Linked DNA regions of Homo sapiens: region 1 is linked to region 2. The links are contacts of gene promoters, found by promoter capture Hi-C in human tissues and cell types (Jung and others, 2019). All regions are on one chromosome and are shown on one strand. Each heading gives the region's core, a stretch centred on a gene start or on the middle of the fragment in contact. The rest is flanking DNA. Distances are from core to core; before and after follow the strand shown. Region 1 overlaps LINC00934 (long intergenic non-protein coding RNA 934). Region 2 holds the start of CCDC60 (coiled-coil domain containing 60).

Region 1 (3,881 bases), core at 1,028-3,527, 46 kb before region 2:
ATTGTATAAGTTTTCAAGCACTTATAAAAGTAGGAGATAGGATAACAAAAAAATAATAAAATAAACATGATCATTCTTGTTTCACTAATACCCCAACCCTTTACCCCCAAACCACTAGTTATTGAAAAGCAAATCTCAGACACCACCTTACTTCATCTTTAGTAATTCAGTGTAAATATCCACATATCTTATGTACCATTACTCAATTAAGAATACCTTAATTTCATCTACTATTCAGTTACTGTTCAAATTTCTCCAATTATTTCAGAAATGTCTTTTAAAAAAAAACAGTTGGTTTGTCTGAAAGAAGCTTTAACTTTAAATGAAACTTGGAGTTTTAACCATTACTTAAGAGCAGGCATTTTAATTACTGACACAGAACTATTCTGTGAGAAAAATGACTTCAGGACATTTTATTATCCAGGAATCACCAGCAAAGTGATGGGGGATGCTGAAAATTTTACCCACGGGCAGAGGAAGCTTCAACTCATCAAAGCCTTGCCAATGGACAGTGGAGAAAACAGTGAGGGTGCCTTCTCACACTCAACAGAGTCCCGCTTATTCACCAGGTGAGTGACACACAGGCTATCTCTAAGCCTCACTACAGTCCTTTGGTTGGGTGTTATAATCCTCATTTTAACAGATGAAAAACTTAAACATAGGCGAATTAACTCGCCTAAAGTCATACAGCTATTATTAGGTAGAACCTGTATTCCAACTCAGGTCTGTCTGACCTCTCCAAGGGGCTCTGGAAGTCACCTACCAAGTAACACTGTCATAGTCTTAGGACATTAAGACACTGTGAAAGCCTTTTTTACAGTTGTGACAGAAGTTAGCAAGAACCAAACCACATCTTCTATTCATTTTTGTTTCCTGGGACTTGACACAGAACTGGGTACACAATAGGTGCCTAATAAATATAAAGCCTTGAAGCCACCATAGCACAGAACCTTATTTAAAGAAACGTCCATTATGGCAGCCAGCCAGTCAGTCTGAAAAACAATTTCCGCCCGCTGCCCCATCTACCATCAGCTTTATCTCAACTTGTTTTCTTGGCAATAGTGGCAGGGGTAGAATCAGCTGCAGAGGTTGGGAGCAAGACAGATTCAGGCCCACATTACAGGAACTCACCTGAGAATATTCAATTTCACTGAAACTAGAAACTAGATATTGAGAAGAGTCTGGTGGAGAAGTTCGCAGCATTGTTACTTTTGATAGGACAGCTTTGGCCAATAAACTGGATTCTTTCATTCCATGAATCCCTCTCAAAAGCCATTATCTGCGTCTGAAACTGTCCATACTCCCCACCCGCGTCTCTTTGCCTGACAAACTCCTAATCCTTCAGAGTTCAACAGAAATCTCATTTGCTCAGCGAAGGCTTCTCTGCCTTCCTGGATGAAGTTCCATCCTTCTCATATGTGTACCTATCATGTATTCAGTCCTCTTTCACTTGGAACGACATGCCAGATAAGGAAAAAATTGCATCTATCTTGTACCTGGAACATAGTAGGCATTCAATAAATATTTTTTGACTGATTTTTTTTTTTAAGCAAGTTTAAAACTGCAATTACAGCAGGGCACGGTGGCTCATGCCTGTAATCCCAGCACTTTGGGAGGCTGAGGTGGGTGGATCACGAGACCAGGAGTTCAAGACCAGCCTGACCAACATGGTGAAACCCCATCTCTACTAAAAATATAAAAATTAGCTGGCCATGGTGGTGCGCGCCTGTAATCCCAGCTACTCAGGAGGCTGAGGTAGGAGAATCGCTTGAACTCGGGAGGTGGAGGATGCAGTGAGCAGACATCACGCCACTGCACTCCAGCCTGGACAACAGAGTGAGACTCCATCTAAAAAAATAAAAAAAAGAAAAAAAAGAAAAAAAATACCACAAAACTGCAATTACTGAAGTCTCTTAAAAAATATCACAGAGCACAGAGGCATTCCATTCACACAACAGAGCAAAGCTTAAAATGCACTTCCTTCTTCTCATTGTGTTCCCCACAAAACGCTCCACTACATTCTTCTCTTCTCTTTTATGAACTCCCTAAAATCTTCAAACCTAGCCATGCCCCCTGGCTTGTGTTCCCTAGTCTTCTCTTCCCATGCAGCAATTTCTCCTATGAATCTACTGAGCCTTTCTATCTCTTTTGAGTTTTCACATTTATCCATTATCCAGATTCTAGAAAGCAAAGAAAGCCTTCAAACTGACCCAATAATCTTCCATCCTTGGAAAGTGAGACAGGACCATAAACTCCTAAAGTAATGGATTTATGCCCATTTTTGTTCCCTGCTGTGTTCTCAGTCTTTAACTGATGCTTGATCAAGATTTACTAGTTGAACAATATAGTTCTCTTAAGCTTATCATATATTTTTATTGTTGATGATGAATAAGTAACAAGAGGTGTTGCCAGAGTGAAAGAAGGGAAGGAAAAGTTTAATAAGGAATCATTTCTCTATTTGGAGGTCTAAGATGGGAAGTCTGCCTGAAGAACCATACCAAGTGGAACACAGCCCCTGGTCATTCCCAGACTAGACGAGCTGCCATGTGCTGCTGAATCAGCAGGAAACAGCACGGGGGGCAAGAGCGAGGTACAGCTCGGCAGCGTGGCAGCAATTTGGCTGACAATTTCCTTCTATGTTTCAGCATAATTGAATTAGCATCCATGGAGACTGTCTCCCAGACATCGGCAAATGCAATACTGTGGAGCAGGCGCTGCAATTCATCTGGCATTATGAGGCATTGAATTGCCATCCAATCCCGCACCTCTCCTTGTTGCTTTGTGTGTGCTCGTTAGAGAAAATTACGTGGATGCGACAAGCCTGGGAACAATTAAAATCTTCCCACTTAGCCAATTCCCAGCAGTGGTGTCCAAGTTCTTCTGATAGGCACTCGGCTTGCTCAGCTAGTATGCCCAACTTCCTGGACGTGCTTTCAAATTTTAAGTAATGGATAAAAGTTCATTTTGCTCCAGCTGAGAATAGGAATTGTTAGCACATAGAGGGACAGCCATGATATGAACCAACCAGAACATCATCCATAGTGGATAGTATCAAGACCAGGAGTCCTGGAACTCAGTCCAACTAGGAAGAGTATTTCTCAAGACAAGTCTAGGGCAATGGAGCTGGATGGTGAGTCAAAGTCAAGGGCCAGGGAGACAGCATCCAGCGTTGCATCCAGAGGGCTAACAGAAACTAGATGTTGGGGGTATTAAAGGCAGGATGCAGCAGACAGTGAGGAATAGCATTGAGTAAATGATTCAGAACCAAGCTTCTGAACATCAAGAAAGTGCTAGATTAAACAGAGGCTATGGGTGGCCAATTAAAGAATTGTATTCTGCTGGCTGGAGGGAATGGCTTACAACTGCTAGGGAGCAGAATGGTGTGAGGAAAAGAGCATATTTTCAGAGTCATATGGATCTTCTGCTTCCTCATTGGAGAAAAAAAGAAACCCATCTTGCAAAGTTAGGAAAGGATTAGAAATGCGCTAGGAATAAAGGTATTATCTGAATAACAGGGCTTTGTCTTGGTTTGAGTTCCACCAGAAAGGGATTGTATTCATCCATTCTCACACTGCTATGAAGAAATACCCAAGACTGGGTAATTTATAAAGGAAAGAGATTTAATTGACTCACAGTCCCTCATGGCTGGAAAGGCCTCAGGGAACTTACAATCATGGCAGAAGGTGAAACAGGCATCTCTTACATGGTGGCAGGTAAGAGAGGTGAGTGTCGTGCAAAGGGGGAAGCCCCTTATAAAACCATCAGATCTTGTGACAACTCACTCACTGTCATGAGAACAGTATGAGGGTAACCACCCCATGACGCAATTACTTCCCACCAGTTCCCTCCCATGACACGTGGGGATTATGGGAACTACAATT
Region 2 (4,109 bases), core at 1,610-4,109:
AGCAGATAAGTTACTTAGTTAAAGTCACACAGCTGGTAAATGGCTGAGTTGGGATTTAGACACCAGCTCAACTAGTACTCCATATAGTCTCTCAATATCGGTTTGGAAAGAGCCTTAAATATCATGTAGTCTGACACCCCCAAGTGATCAAAAATCCAAGAAGCCATATGGCATTTAGTTGAACACCTCTAGTGCTGGGTAGTTTGTTCCCTCTCTAAAGAATATACCCCTTCCTAGACAGAGAAGGGAAATTCGTTATTTTGCTTCATCATCCTGGTAGCAGGTATAAAATTGGCATAACCATTCACTACACATGAGTTTTATACACGTGAAAAATTGAGGCTTGGAGAAGTGAACTTGACCCAGGTCTTATTGGTAACAAATGGCAGAGCCAGGAATTGAACGCATGTCTTTTCAGTTCTAGAGCCCTTCCTATTTCCAGTTCTTACATGGCTCTGACAGGTGAGTATTATAAAAACAACAAAGGAAATAAGGGCTAATATTTATTGAGCACTTCCTCCGTGCTAGGCATTGTGCTTTGCATGAGTTATCCCATTTGGTTTTCATCACAGTCCTATGAGAATTATCATTGAAGCTGCTCAGTGGCTAATTCAGTTGGATTCCAGAGGTCACACCTTTTAAAATTATGTTCTGCTGTGTACACATTTCTTCCTATTGAGCCCAAACCTCCTCCTATTCTTTGAGCTAATACAGAACTAGTTGAGTTCCTCTTTGCCAAGCCTGTTCTACAAAATCATATGAAGACAGCTTTTGTCTGTTCTGCTCAGGGCTGAACATTTCCCATCCTGCCTTGTTTTCTCATCCCCTCATCCCCTCATCCCCAGCCCTATCTCCCAAACATGATTCCCTTTATCTGCTTCATTCTGAAAGTGTCTGCCGATTGCTTAATGCTGCCCACAAAAGAAGCCGGAGAACCAAAACTTCCTGTGAAAGGGAAGGTCAGGGTCAGTCTTTAGGCAATGGTGAGAAAATAATGACTTTCAGGCACCAGCATCTAGAGTTACTTGGCTAGGTATTTTGCATTCTGTAGAGTGTCATCTTGCAGTAGATGCCTTCTAAAGAGAAGATGAGCTGGGCGCCATGGCTCACACCTGTAATCCCAGCAGATAACTTGAGTTCAGGAGTTTGAGACCAGCCTGGCCAACATGGTGAAACCCCGTCTCTACTAAAAATACAAAAATTAGCCTGGCCTGCCTGGTGGCATGCCCCTGTAATCCCAGCTACTCAGAAGGCTGATGCAGGAGAATCGCTTGAACCCGGGAGGCGGAGGTTGCAGTGAGCCGAGATCACGCCACTGCACTCCAGCCTGGGCAACACAGCAAGACTCTGCCTCAAAAAAAAAGAAAAAGAAAAAGAAAGAAAGAAAGAGAGAAGATGCAGCCATAATGATATCATAATCCCCAGCAGCTCAAGGTTGTTGGATAAAACAGGAATCAGATCGATCCAGTGTGAAACAATGCCAAGGATAAGGCATTCAAATCCAAACATACGAAATAAATCTGCTGCAGGCTGGGAACCTACCCCGTAGGGTTATTGGAAGGATTAAATGAATTAATGTATGCGAAGTGCTTAGTACAGTACCTAGCACAGAGCAAGTGATCAATAAATATCAGTTAGTACTAACATCTGCTGTGAAATGAACCCAGCACAGTGAGAATGCCTGATTCTTCCTCGGGAAGTGATGTCAGGGAATAATAATAGTACCACTTAGCTAGGACTCCCCATGGGCTCAGCCTTCATATGCATCATCCACTTCAATTCTTAACAACCTGTGGCAAAGATAGTATCCCCATTTTAAAGACATAGAAGCCAAACTCAGCAAAGTTAGGCATCTAAGTGGTTAAAAGCTTGCTCTTTAGACTCAAACAGTTCTGGCTTTGAATTTCAGCTGCAGCACATGCGTGACTTTAAACTTGTCATTTAATGTCTCTGTGCTTCAGTTGCTTAGGCTGTACAATGGGGTAATAAAACACCTTCTTTAAAGAGGTGCTGTATGGATTGAGTCAGTATGTGACACTTAGAACAGTGTCTAGCACATCCTAAGCACTCAATAAATGTCATATGCATACATGCCCACACACACAAATACGTATATACACACATATATACATGTCTACATATGTATATTCATATATGTGTATATGTATGTGTGTGCATATATCTATATCTATATACAGCTGTCCCTTTTCTTTGCTCCCACAATACCCTATGATACTTTCCCAGCACATCATAAATCATCCTGCCTTATAACAATGTTTCTTATCTTTTGCTCCCCATCCCAAACATACACACTATAGATCGTGAAGTCCTGAAGGTCTCATTTTTTTTAATTTCATTTTTACTTTATTATATTTTATTTTAGCAGAGTCAATAAATCTTTGCTAAATAAATGGAATAACAATATTTCATTTTATGAAATGAAGGGCTTTGAAGGATGAGCAGGAGTTTGTCAGGTGGAAAAACGGGAGAAATAGGCATCTCAGGTTAAGAATTGCAGGACTACAGGCCACCCACCCCAAGGCACAAAAAATTACTAGTGGGTTAGCAGCAGTACAGAGCAGAGTTTGAAAAGAAGGATTCGCTTGTAGTCAGGCAGAGAGAAAGGGTATGGTCCTCAGGCCTAAAAACAGAAACCAATTTGTTTAGAGAATGCAGCTCCGGTGGCAGCCGGCTGCTCTGAGCCGGCGTCCCAGCAACCTGGGAGAGTTCACGACCCCCATGACCCCGCCCCCACGAATTCCAGCCAATGAGGAAGCCCTCCTCGGCGTCCCGTTGCCAAGCAACTGGGTTCCCCCCACCCCCACCCGGCCCAAGGGTTAGCAGTTGCCTACTTTCCCCGCAGTGCGATAAACCCCTCGTTGGGGCCGCCTTAGTTCTCGGCCGCTCTCGGAGGATGGCGATCTGGGAGCCCCTCCATGGGACCCCTCTCACACTTTGTCACTGGAATTTTATTTATTTTTTAGTTCATATTTTATTTTGCTTATAGAAGAGAAAGATATCCCTTCCGAAGAGGAGGAAGCTTACAGAAGTTTATAACCTTTCAAAAAGTAAATAAGTCCAGGCTTGCCTGATTCTGCCCTACCCGGACTTCCTTATCCCGTCTGTGGGAGACCCAGGTGCTTTCTCATTACTCTTCAGAAGGAAACCGCTTTGGAGTTCGTGTAATTGGGACTTGGGGATCAGGGAGAAGTTGCCGAAACTTCTCATACCAGTAACTACTGAAGTAGAAGATTCTGGAAAAATCCTTGTCTTGGGGGCACAGGCTAAAACCTGAAGGATTTTTAAGATGACCAAGGTTCCAGCCACCAAGAAGCTTCAGAGTTCCCCCAACTCGGGGGCTGTCCGGCCCTTTTATGCCTCGGAGAACCTAAGGCAGGTAAGTCTCCCCTCTGCTGAAACCAATCATGTTTTCGAGAACAAGTGAAATAGGAATTAGCTGGGTCAAATGGTATTTCTAGTTCTAGATCCCTGAGGAATCGCCACACTGACTTCCACAATGGTTGAACTAGTTTACAGTCCCACCAACAGTGTAAAAGTGTTCCTATTTCTCCACATCCTCTCCAGCACCTGTTGTTTCCTGACTTTTTAATGATTGCCATTCTAACTGGTGTGAGATGGTATCTCATTGTGGTTTTGATTTGCATTTCTCTGATGGCCAGTGATGATGAGCATTTTTTCATGTGTTTTTTGGCTGCATAAATGTCTTCTTTTGAGAAGTGTCTGTTCATGTCCTTTGCCCACTTTTTGATGGGGTTGTTTGTTTTTTTCTTGTAAATTTGTTTAAGTTCATTGTAGATTCTGGATATTAGCTTTTTGTCAGATAAGTATGTTGCGAAAATTTTCTCCCATTTTGTAGGTTGCCTGTTCACTCTGATGGTACTTTCTTTTGCTGTACAGAAGCTCTTTAGTTTAATTAGATCCCTTTTGTCAATTTTGTCTTTTGTTGCCATTGCTTTTGGTGTTTTAGACGTGAAGTCCTTGCCCATGCCTATGTCCTGAATGGTATTGCCTAGGTTTTCTTCTAGGGTTTTTATGGTTTTCATGTCCTTTGTAGGGACATGGATGAAATTGGAAATCATCATTCTCAG

What was found. Contacts are between HindIII fragments. The study calls those that stand out against the background at their distance.
Region 1: a fragment that was not itself captured here is called in contact with the fragment with the promoter of CCDC60 in region 2 in 2 of the 25 tissues and cell types used here (dorsolateral prefrontal cortex and spleen).

Annotation. Positions count from the first base shown.
Region 1 is chr12:119,286,119-119,289,999 of GRCh38, forward strand. The region is part of intron 2 of LINC00934 (long intergenic non-protein coding RNA 934); the gene reads right to left. Among named protein-coding and RNA genes, the nearest start is that of LINC00934, 15 kb to the right of the region's middle. The HindIII fragment of the contact is 3,764 bases long and covers 396-3,881 here.
Region 2 is chr12:119,331,870-119,335,978 of GRCh38, forward strand. It overlaps CCDC60 (coiled-coil domain containing 60), which reads left to right and starts at 2,860. Exons shown (of 14, transcript NM_178499.5): 1 at 2,860-3,397. The coding sequence starts at 3,308. The HindIII fragment of the contact is 4,991 bases long and covers 932-4,109 here.